Linked DNA regions of Homo sapiens: all the other regions are linked to region 4. Evidence: promoter capture Hi-C in human tissues and cell types (Jung and others, 2019). All regions are on one chromosome and are shown on one strand. Each heading gives the region's core, a stretch centred on a gene start or on the middle of the fragment in contact. The rest is flanking DNA. Distances are from core to core; before and after follow the strand shown.

What was found. The method cuts DNA at HindIII sites, captures the fragments that hold promoters and counts their contacts. A contact is called where the count stands out against the background at its distance.
Region 1: a fragment that was not itself captured here is called in contact with the fragment with the promoter of INTS2 in region 4 in 1 of the 25 tissues and cell types used here (IMR-90 fibroblasts).
Region 2: a contact is called between a fragment that was not itself captured here and the fragment with the promoter of INTS2 in region 4, in 2 of the 25 tissues and cell types used here (H1 embryonic stem cells and mesenchymal stem cells).
Region 3: a fragment that was not itself captured here is called in contact with the fragment with the promoter of INTS2 in region 4 in 1 of the 25 tissues and cell types used here (lymphoblastoid cells).

Annotation. Positions count from the first base shown.
Region 1 is chr17:61,967,011-61,970,154 of GRCh38, forward strand. MED13 (mediator complex subunit 13) reads right to left here. Exons shown (of 30, transcript NM_005121.3): 18 at 1,025-1,248. Among named protein-coding and RNA genes, the nearest start is that of INTS2, 41 kb to the left of the region's middle. The HindIII fragment of the contact is 4,125 bases long and covers 1-3,144 here.
Region 2 is chr17:61,987,959-61,990,908 of GRCh38, forward strand. The region is part of intron 11 of MED13 (mediator complex subunit 13); the gene reads right to left. Among named protein-coding and RNA genes, the nearest start is that of INTS2, 61 kb to the left of the region's middle. The HindIII fragment of the contact is 7,657 bases long and covers 1-2,950 here.
Region 3 is chr17:61,891,507-61,894,470 of GRCh38, forward strand. INTS2 (integrator complex subunit 2) reads right to left here. Exons shown (of 25, transcript NM_001351695.2): 13 at 2,259-2,393; 14 at 7-183. Among named protein-coding and RNA genes, the nearest start is that of BRIP1, 29 kb to the left of the region's middle. The HindIII fragment of the contact is 3,437 bases long and covers 1-2,964 here.
Region 4 is chr17:61,926,552-61,929,598 of GRCh38, forward strand. It overlaps INTS2 (integrator complex subunit 2), which reads right to left and starts at 1,431. Exons shown (of 25, transcript NM_001351695.2): 1 at 1,103-1,431; 2 at 1-111. The coding sequence starts at 93. RefSeq lists a silencer at 1,462-1,561. The HindIII fragment of the contact is 16,998 bases long and covers 1-3,047 here.

The DNA.
Region 1 (3,144 bases), core at 421-2,920, 41 kb after region 4:
CATTAACACCAATTCATGAATTATGAATACAAATATCCCTAAATCAAAGCAAAATAAAAATTGTTATACAAATATATTTATACACCTTCTCCCTCTAGTTCTGTGAGTCACTGATTTTTGTTATTAGAAGCCCAATGTTAAATAAATTTAAAACATTGGATTAAGCAAACTTAGAAGAGTTCTTTACTGTAAGAATTTCAAAGCCTTTAAAAACCTAATATGAATTGTAAATCTCTAAAAGGTAATATAATATACAATGTTTCCCCAAGCCTATTTAACTATGGAACTTTTTCTCTGAGAGGATTTTACCGGACTGATATTCCAAATAACACCCTTTGGGAAATGTTTATTTATTAAAAACACACTACAAATACCTTGTAATTATGTGGAAAATTTTAAAAGGAAGCTAAACTAACATACACTAACATTCAGATTGTATAAGGAATCAAAATTTAAAGACTAAATTTCGAAGCCTTTGTGGAAAAAGGAGGGAATAATAAAGTAAGACTTTATGTCCCATAACACTTATAATTTACAATTATTGCGCCTGGTGATGGATATGTGAGAATTATAACTTAAAAGAAGAGGCAAGAATTTCAGACCTGAAATGGACCTTAGTGATATCTAGCATAGATTTATTTTACATATGAGGAAAGTGAGGCCTAGTGTCACTACCTGAAATCCTAGAGAATAAAGACTAGAATTTTTGTAAATGTAACTTTTTTCCTGGCTATTTAACATTGTTACCCTTTGTTTTAGAAAAAGCCACATTAAAAGGGATATATATCTATATGCCCTCAATGTTTCTTCCTCCTATAGGGGGATAGCCACTCTGACCCACGGCATACACATCTAACAGACTGGGTCAAACTCAGCAAAGAATGTAACTGGCTAGTATGAGAAATAAACATCTAATCTGACATCATCACTGTGTCCCAATCAACTGAACTGCCCAGTATGCTGTATATACAACAATACAAATCGTAAGGTAGTTTTAAAATGTCATCTCTTTTTAAACACCTACCTCATATATTGCAGTAAGATCTCTAAAAAAGCTTTTTGCTCCATTTAACAAGGCTTCATTTTCTGGACACAGTACAACATAGGCTATATCTCTTTGAGATCCATAGGGTTCCAGCATAAGTCTCTCCCAATAAGGAAGAGCAAATGGAGAAAGCACCAGATAATCATAATCATAACCCAACAAAAATGTGGGGATTGGCAGTGGTTCTGGGGATTCATCAGTTCCTAAATAAGAAAGATGTATTTTAAGAAAACACTTAAAAACAAGACATGTCTCCTTTTTATTTATTTATTTATTTATTTATTTTTTGAGACAGAGTCTCGCTCTGTCGCCCAGACTGGAGTGCAGTGGCGCCATCTCGGCTCACTGCAAGCTCCGCCTCCCGCGTTCACGCCATTTTCCTGCCTCAGCCTCCTGAGTAGCTGGGACTGCAAGTGCCTGCCACCACGCCTGGCTAATTTTTTGTATTTTTTAGTAGAGACGAGGTTTCACCGTGTTAGCCAGGATGGTCTCGAGCTCCTGACCTTGTGTCCGCCCACCTCGGCCTCCCAAAGTGCTGGGATTACAGGTGTGAGCCACCATGCCCGGCCTCCTTTTTATTTAAATGTCAAAAGTTAATGAAGTCATTATTAGTGAAAATATTTTATTAGAGACAAAAATACTTAATGCCAGTGGTCAAGACTTTTCAACATTAAGGAATTTCCTAAACAAGTCTTTTTATTTACTTATTTTTTTGAGACAGGGTCTTGCTCTATTGCCCAGATTAGACTGCAGTGGAACAATCACGCCTTACTGCAGCATTAACCTGCTGGGCTCAAGCAATCCTCTGTCCTCAGCTTCCCGAATAGCTGGGACTACAGGTGTGTGCCACTATGCTTAGCTAATTTTTAAAGTTTTTGTAGAGATGGGATCTTGCTGTGTTGCCCAGGGTGGACTCAAACTCCTGAGCTCAAGTGATCCTCCTTCCTCAGCCTCCCAAAGTGCTGGGATTACGTGCAGGAGCCACCACGTCTGGTCTGCATTTAAATTTTTGGCATGGGGCTGGGTGCAGTGGCTCACACCTGTAATTTCAGCACTTTGGGAGGCCGAGGTGGGCAGATCACCTGAGGCTGGGAGTTTAAGACCAGCCTGACCAACATGGAGAAAGCCTGTCTCTATTAAAAATACAAAATTAGCCGGGCATGGTGGTGCATGCCTGTAATCCCAGCTACTCAGGAGGCTGAAGCAGAATTGCTTGAACCCAGGGGGTGGAGGTTGCGGTGAGCTGAGATTGCACCAGTGCACGTCAGCCCAGGCAAAAAGAGCAAAACTCCATCTCAAAAACAAACAAACAAAAAATTGGCATAAAAATACACTGTAGGCCAGGTGCTGTGGCTCATGCCTGTAATCTCAGCACCTTGGGAGACTGAGGTGGGAGGATTACTTGAGCCCAGGAGTTTGAGGCCTAGGCAACATAGTGAGACACCATCCTTATTTATACATTTAAAAATAATATAATTTAAAAAATAGAAAAAAGAAAAAACCTTACTAAGAGCGCAGATCTCATGTTAAGTGTTCTTTCTTTTAGTTTTTTTTTGTTTTGTTTTTGAGACAGTCTTGCTCTGTTGCCTAGGCTGCAGTGCAGTGGTGCGATCTCCACTCACTCCAACCTCCACCTCCTGGGTTCAAGCAATTATCTCACCTCAGCCTCCTGAGTAGCTGGGATTATAGGCACACATCACCATACCGGGATAATTTTTGAATTTTTGGTAGAGATGGGGTTTCACCATGTTGGCCAGGCTGGTTTCAAACTCCTGACCTCAAGTGATCTGCCCACCTCGGCCTCCCAAAGTGCTGGGATTACAGGCGTGAGTCGTCATGCCTGGTGAGTGTTCTTACCATAATAAAAAAATTTTTAAAAGAAAATGACCAACAACCTAATAGAAAAATGGGTTAAGAACATGGAGATTACAAAACAAAACTATCTCTAACACATAAAAAGATGCTCTTTCTCATTAAAAAAGCAATTTAAAATTAATAATAGCAAACAATGATAATTCTATGTGCTAGGTACTGTTCAAAGCTCTTTGCATGTACTAACTCATTTAATCCTCACAAAAAACATAAGGCAGAAACTATTA
Region 2 (2,950 bases), core at 346-2,845, 62 kb after region 4:
TCTTGAGCTTCTGGGCTCAAGCAATCTGCCCACCTCTGTTTCTGAAGTGCTGGGATTACAGGTGTGAGCCACCTCACCTGGCCTGTATTTTTCTATCTTTCTGAAATGTAAACGAAGAACAGAACAATGATCAAGAGCTGACTCTTGGGCCAGACAGACTTTAATCTGAATCCCAGCTCCACCACTAACAGTATGACCCTCGACAAATTACTTAATGTCTCTGTGCCTCAATACCAAGAATAAAATGTAATAGAATGTTGGTAATGTGCTTCGCCCAGTACTAGGTGCTTAAGTACTAGATAAATATTACCGCTTAGTTACCGTACTACAATTTTATTTTCCTACCCTCTCGCCCTGTTTTAGGGTAACAAAAACATGATACCAATTACAATGAAAATTAAACTCCCAATATATTCCTGCACAAGAAAAACAATTTGATACATAACCTTCCAAATCATTCTCTGTTAACTGACTTGAGAGTCCTCGTTTTCAGAAAGATAAAAGTCACTTCCCCAGTGTCTCTGGTGTGTCAGTTCTAAAGATTCACTAGAGTTGTGCCTTTGAAATTTTAAAAGTAAAAATCATCTAAGATACTTACTAAAAACCAAGATTTTGAAGCTCCACCTTGGAGATACTCCAGAATGTAGCATATGTCTCACATTTTGAGAAAGCTGAACTACAGGCACAAGAAGGGGCTTACATGTTTCCTATATCCCAGGGAACATCCTAGCATAGGTAAGTAGCCCAAACAACCCAATTTGTTTCCGAGTTTTTTCGTTTTTTTTTTTAATGTATGTATTGTGAAATGACTAAATCAAGCTACTGAACATATTCATTACCTCATATACAGGTACTTTTTTTTATGTTGGGAACACTTAAAATCTACTCTGAATTTTCAAATATACAATCTATTATTAATTGTAGTAACCACAATTTACAATAGATCTCTTGAACTTATTCCTCCCAACTGAAATTTTGTGTCCCCTGGCCATCCCCATTCCCCTACCCCCAGTCTCTGGTAATCACCACTTTACTTTCTACTTCCATGAATCCAGCTTTTTTTTTTTTTTTGAGACAGAGTCTCGCTCTGTCGCCCAGGCTGGAGTGCAGTGGCGTGATCTCGGCTCACTGCAACCTCTGTCTCCCGGATTCAAGCGATTCTCCTGCCTCAGCTCCCAAGTAGCTGGGACTACAGGTGTGTGCCACCACACCCGGCTGATTTTTTGTATTATTAGTAGAGACGGGGTTTCACTGTGTTAGCCAGGATGGTCTCAATCTCCTGACCTCATGATCCACCTGCCTTGGCCTCCCAAAGTGTTGGGATTACAGGCGTGAGCCACCACGCCCAGCCATATATTTTAATTTTTAAAATATTTAACATTTGATTGATTGATTGATTGGAGATGGAGTTTCACTCTTGTCACCCAGGCTGGAGTGCAATGGAGCGATCCTGGCTCACTGCAACCTCCGACTCCTAGATTCAAGCAATTCTGCCTCAGCCTCCCAAATAGATGGGATTACAGGTGCACGCCACCACACCTGGCTAATTTTGTATTTTTAGTAGAAACGGAGTTTTGCCATGTTGACCAGGCTGGTCTCAAACTCCTGACCTCAGGTGATCTGCCCACCTTGGCCTCCCAAAGTGCTCGGATTACAGGCATGAGCCACTGCACCTGGCCTATTTATTGTTTTTACACAGATAGGGTCTCACTACGTTGGCCAAGGTGGTCTTGAACTCCTGGCCTCAAGCAATTCTCCTACTGTGGCCTCCCAAAATACTGAGATTATAGGCATGGGCCATGACACTTGGCCTTGCAGCAGACTTTCAAATCAGGTAGTGTGATGCCACCAACTTTGTTCTTTTTGCTCAAGACTGCTTTAGCCATTCAGGGCCTTTTGTGACCCTATACACATTTTAGGATTGTTTTTTCTATTACTGTGAAAAGTGTCATTGGAATTTTGATAGGGATTGCTCTGAATCTGTAGATCACTCCGGCAAAGAATCCAAACTGTTGAATTTTCAAGCTACCTAGACCATTTGTTCATTGTTCAGATAGATTTTTTTCTTATTTTTGGTTATCCACAGACTGACCCTCTATTTATTCCAAATATTAAAACTTTGTCATCGAAAACACACACCAGAAGATGACTTACTTTGCCCACATCAAAAGTTAAATGGATTTTGCTGTACATCATAGTGAATAATAACATATTGTATACTTGCAAATTGCTGAAAGTAGATTTTAAGTATTCTCACCCACACGCACAAAAAAGGTATGTAAGGTAATGCATATGTTAAACAGCTTGATCTACCCATTCCACTATATATACATACACACACATATACACACACACATATATATACACACTCACACATATATATGTAAAATAATTCCAAGTGTTTGCTCACTGAAGACTTGACAGTACTTTCAAGCTTATAGTTGTGGGGTTACAATAGGAGACTAACAATTCTCCTCATACCAGTCTCCATTGTTTAAATTATAACTGAAAAATGATTTAGAATAAGATAAACTGTAACTGTGTTGTGACACAGAATATGAGTAAAATGTTAAAAAAATGTAAATATATATATATTTTTTAGTATGTGTGTATATATGTATAGGGTCTCACTATATATATATATACACACACACACTTGGCGCACTGTGTATATATATATATATATATATATACACACTCCCCCCCAAAACATCATGTTGTATACCATAAATATATATAATTTTTACTTGTCAATTAAAAAAATTATTTTACAAGTTAAATGGGTTTTGTAAATGAATTACTATACTATGTCTCTCTATTCCATTCACAAGGAGTTTAAGTCAGACATATTCAAAGTGGAGTCTTGACCACTGTGTCCCCAATACCCAAACAGTACCTACACATAACAGGTGCTAACTAAGTATTTGTTGAATTAGTGGCCTCAGAACAG
Region 3 (2,964 bases), core at 298-2,797, 35 kb before region 4:
TTTTACCCCAATGACTCCTTGGAAAATATTGAGTATCTCCTGTTCTGTGACTGGCTGATTTGTGGCTTCTGGATTAGATTTCGACGCAGGAGTAAGTATAGAATTTATGTACACATCAATCAAAGGAAGTAATTGAGGATGAAGTGGAGTAGAGGTTTCACACAGCTGTCTATAAATCCAATCCTAAGAAAGAATGTTATAGACACTGAATTAATTGTGGCAAAAAGAAAAACCAAGCAAAATTATAAAAGTACATACAGTTTTACATGAATTATGAATCAGTAAAACTCACTATTAACTTTTGGCAGTTCCAAATATATTATCTAGTATCATAACTGCCTTTGATTTTAAAATATGAACTACCATTATATCTGTATCATCTTAGGTGCACCCTCCACTAGAAGCTTGCCTTTCGGTTTAATCTATTAGTTTTTAAGTAGTGGGAAAAACATTTTAAGTCCCTACCATATCTGTATTTAGAGCACCATGTGTGTCGTCATGGGAGAGCTCACGTTAGATAGGAATTTGGAGAGAGAGAGATAGGTCCTTCACAGCAAACCCTCAGATAGACTAAGAAAATGTCTCTGAAAAGCACTTACAGGAGACTTATCACTTAACTATCATTGGATGGAGGACATGTAAAATGTTGGGGGTGCATGTGAACTCTTAATTCTTAGCTATTTTACTTGCTAAAAATATAAAGCAGATGATGCAATCTGGCTGGAAAATAATCTCACTAAATCACAAAAAACAAGCAACAATTAAAAAGTGATATATCATGCATATATTATTCACTGTTCTTTGTAAATATCTGAAAAAGTTTCAGTCTACTTTACCTCCTGGGTCTTAATACCTTCTCTTTAGAGGGCCTTTTAACTTGTTAGATATAGCCAACTAAGACAAATCAAAACATGTCAAAATTCTAAGTTAGGTGTGAGGTGTCCTTATGACAAATCAACAAATACTAGTCATGGCAGCTTCCCCAATTTGTAAAACAAAACCAGGCCCACTGCAGTGGCTCATGCCTGTAATCCCAACACTTCGGGAGGCCGAAGTAGGAGAATTGCTTGAGACCAGGAGTTCAAGACCAGACCAGCCTGGGCAAAATAGCGAGACCCTGTCTCTACAAAAAAACACTTTTTAAAGCCAGGTATGAGGCCAGGCACGGTGGTTCATGCCTGTAATCCCAGCACTTTGGGAGGCCGAGGTGGGTGGATCACGTGAGGTCAGGAGTTTGAGACCAGCCTGGCCAACATGGTGAAACCCTGTCTCTACTAAAAATTAAAAAAAAAAAAAAATTAGCCAGGCATGGTGGCAGGAGCCTGTAATACCAGCTACTCAGGAGGCGGAAGCAGGGGAATCACTTGAACCCAGGAGGCGGAGGTTGCAGTGAGCTGAGATAGCACCACTGCACTCCAGCTTGGGCAACAAAGTGAGACTCCATCTCAAAAAAAAAAAAAAAAAAAAAAAGCCAGGAGTGGTGGCTCGCACCTGTAGTTCCAGCTACTTAGGAGGCTGTGGCAGGAGGACTGCTTGAGCCCAGGAGTTTGAGGTTACAGTGAGCTATGACAGCCTGGGCGACAGAGTGAGACCCTGTCTTTAAAATTAAAAAAAAAAATTAGAAAATGGCAGTTTCTAAGTTTTAATAAAATAGCCATGTGCCACTATTGAGAATTTAAATGGAGTATTATGCATTTTGAAAATCTTACATTGTTTTAAAAATCTGAAATTACTGTATAATTATATAATTATAATTACTATCCCTAATTACTATACTTATATAAATGACTAGTAACTTAGCTTAATACCACACATTTCCTACACAAAACCCACAATAAATGCCTACAAACTGAAATACAACTGGGGAGAAAGCATTAATTTAGGTTGTTCTTTGAAATATAAATGTAGGCCAGGCACAGTGGCTCACGCCTGTAATCCCAGCACTTTGGTCGGTTGAGACAGGCATATCACTTGAGGTCAGGAGTTCGACACCAGCCAGCCAACACGGTGAAACCCTGTCTCTACTAAAAATACAAAAATTAGCCGGGCATGGTGGCACACACCTGTAGTCCCAGCTACCTGGGAGGTTGAGGCAGGAGAATCACTTTAACCCAGGAGGCAGAGGTTACAGTGAGCCAAGACTGCACCACTGCACTCCAACCTGGGTGACTGAGCAAGACTCCATCTCAAAAGAAAAAAAATATATATATAAAAATGTAGGGGCATGCTTTTATTTTGTTTTATTTGTAGGGGCATACTTTTATTGACACTTTGTGCTTGGTAAAGGAACGGCTCCTGAGAAGCTGGTAAATACAATGAATAGGCAAAAATCCAGTAATGTTGGCACTCAGGTTGCTGGTGACAGGGACCCGAACTGCATGAGCTGTGACAACCTAAAAGGGAAAAATAGCATTAGTAATATAATAGAACTAAATATAAAATTATTTTGAAAGAGAGATTAGTAAGTAGACTGTCAACACCTAATACAAGTGTGGTCCCTAGAAATGAATGATGAAAATAAATTATTACATGTTTTAATTGTCTTTGAATGCTGAGGAAATGTACATTTAGGGATTTATATAATTCCCTAATTTTTTGTTTATAAACATAGATACATACACAGTGGTGTGATAAGGTAAAAAAATAAAATAAAATTTTGAAGCATACAATCTGGGCTCAATGACTTTGAAGAAGTCATTTATCTTCTGAATCTTTTTCACATCTACAAAACAGGACACTGCCATACCTGCCTCAAAGCATTGTTATGGGGGGAAAATATTCTTTTTGGAAAAACATCATATGAACTATAAAGCACCACATAAATATAAACAGAAATATTTATTCTCAATATGTCATGCATAGGCTCTAATCGTCTTTTAAAGACCCTCTTCAAAGTTGTCTTCCAATTGGTTCAAATTTAAAGACAAAAAATAACTTATGATTCTCCCACATGCTGTGTGACTA
Region 4 (3,047 bases), core at 181-2,680:
ATCACTTAAAGATGCCAGGCAAACAACATCCACCTTCTGCATTGCCTCAAAAGCAAAAGGGCTGACAAACTGAAGACTTGTACATTCAGTCATTATTACTGTTTGTTGATCCTAATGGTAAAAATACAAATGAAAGTAGGAGTTTAACTTTCACATGTATGAACACCCAACTTTCTAAAAACCCTGAAAAATGTGGTGTATCTTTAATAGGTCCCTATGTTGGCAATGTTCCTGGCACAATCAAGACAAGGCTTCTCTGTCTCCCTAGGTTTATACTGTCACCTGGGAAATGGGAAAGAAAACAGAGTATATTAATGTCTCTTCCAGCCTCAGGAATCTTCTGCTCTAATACTCATATTTTACAAAGAAGGAATATGAAGCCCAGAGAGATGAAGTAACACGCCCAAAATAGTATTACTAGTTAGAGGCACAATCCAAGGCTGAATCCTCATCTACTAAAATCCCAGTCCAAGACTTTCTCCACTATATCAGTCACATGAGCTCCACAAAATGTAAACAAAAGTGAATGGTCATAGTTAAGTGCTTTCTTTCATACCCCGATAGTTTCACATGCCTACCCCGATATACATCAAGAACTATTGGGCTTCTCTTTCTCACCCTCCATGAGTCGGTGGAAAAACTAGCAAATCACTGGGCAGAACCAATGCCAGATTCAAGGCTCTGGAGGCCACAACACTATCCTATGTCCCCTGTGTTACCGGGTAAAAAGCAGATGTGTGGGTGCTATGTGAGAAAGACGCGTCTCATTAGCGCACTTCTCTGTCTCCAGGAATCATCCAAGGCACAAAAAGTAAACAAAAAGGCAGTGAGCTGGCAGCCAAAGCAGTCCCCTCTCAAGGCCGACCGACTAGCAGCAGCGTGGGTAAAAGTCGTGGGTAAAAACTGCTTTGCTTTCAGGGAGGGGCTGCTCTTTTAACAGAGGGGCGGGCTGACTGGAGCAGAGGAGCCAAGACCTGCGTGCTCCTCCGTCTCGCCCCGGGCGCAACTAGAACCAATAAGTCCCTCAGGCTGAGCAAAGTCTGGCCAGGCTCCGACACGGACCTAGGAACGCGCTGAGGCCAGAGAAGCGGACGCTTCATACCTTAAGATCTACCCTCCAGCCTCACGGAACCGCACACGGACTCCGCGTCCTAGAGGCGGGACGCGGCAGAAATCGAGAGCGCGGTCCGATGTTGGGCCTAGGCGATATCCGGAACCCCAAACCCTAGTTGTGCCTCGAGTCGACTCGGACACCAAGAACTCAGACGCCGGGACCAACCGGGTTGTCGATACAAAGTGGGAAGGATGGGGGCACCACACAAAGGCAGAACCGGGACTGTAGGAACGGAAAAGCGGGAGACTTTTTCAACCTGCACCCAGCACCTTCATTCATCCCCAGCGTCTGACTCCCGTCGGCCACCGTACTGGTCTGAGAGGAAGGGTGGCTGCGAGAGGAAAGGCAGAGACGTCGGCGCCAATGCAACTGTGCGCGTGCGCGGCCCCGCCCCTTTCTCCACTTTATTTGCCCTGCCCTACTTGTTCGCCAAAAATTTAGAAATGTGATTCTGGTAGGCTCTGATTTCCAGAGCCTACCAGCTCCTTCCTTTTAGACAAGCAAGCCACTGAGCCCCTCAGAACTTAAATTTCATCATCACAGGATTGCCATGGCATTCAAATGGCATAACGTGTGTTAAAATCGTTCCCACTATTCTTTGACACTAGTGGTACCAAACTGTACTCTTTAAATCTTTGCCTGTGCCTTCCCAGAACCAAAATTCTAGAATCCCAGGATTTGTGGGAGAATTTTAAAAGTGATCTAACCCCAAACTTTCTTCCGCTCTTGACCTCACACCTCCGCTGTCAGAAGTTAAACACCTTCCTTTCAGGTTCTTAACTTGGGGGACCCATAGAACCTTAGAGAGGCAATGCACGGGGATTCAGGAATTCTCTGGAATCCGTTCAGAACTGAGTGCTCGGCACTTCTTCTGGGAAGAGGGTCCAAAACTTTCAACAACTTCTCAAAGGAAGTCTGATCACTCAGAAAAGAACCACTAGTCTATATATGAAGAACCGCTAGTCCATATGTCTTCATACTATTTATTGTTCCTAGTTCGATCAACGTTTATTTGGCAACTTCTATTTACCAGATATTGTGCTAGGAGCTGGAAATAAAAATATTTTACAAAGATATAGCACTTTATAACCTCTTTAAAAATAAAGTCAGAGCCGGGCGTGGTGTCTCATGCCTGTAATCCCAGCGCTTTGGGAAGCCGAGGCGGGCGGATCACCTGAGGTCAGGAGTTCGAGACCAGCCTGACGCAACATGACTAAACCCCAACTCTACAAAAAATATAAAAATTAGGCCGAGCACGATGGCTCATGCCTGTAATCCTAGCACTTTGGGAGGCCGAGGCAGGCAGATCACGAGGCCAGGAGTTCGAGACCAGCCTGACCAACATGGTGAAACTCCGCCTCTACTAAAAATGCAAAAATTAGCCAGGCGTGGTGGTGTGCGCCTGTAATCTCAGCTACTTGGGAGGCTGAGGCGGGAGCATTGCTTGAACCTGGGAGGCGGAGGTTGTGGTGAGCTGAGATCGTGCCATTGCACTCCAGCCTAGGCAATAAGAGCGAAACTCCGTCTCAAAAAAAAAAAAAAAAAAAAAAAATTACCCCAGCGTGGTGATGGAGCACCTGTAGTCCCAGCTACTTCGGAGGCTGAGACAGGAAAATCACTTGAACCTAGGAGGCAGATGTTTCAGTGAGCAGAGATCATGCCACCGCACTCCAGCCTGGGCAACAGAGCCAGACTCCATCTCAAAAATATATATATATATATGACTTTCAACATAGATCAGCAAAGGAAGAAAAGAATTGTGTGTTGCAATGCTTCTGAAAATTTTTTCCACCTGACCCACAATAATACATTTCACATTGTGACCCAGAAAAAACATATGTATATATCCACATACAAAAATAAGTGTAAGTGTATAAATTTATATGCTATATAAACATATAAATATATAACATATAAACCCACATTTACATGG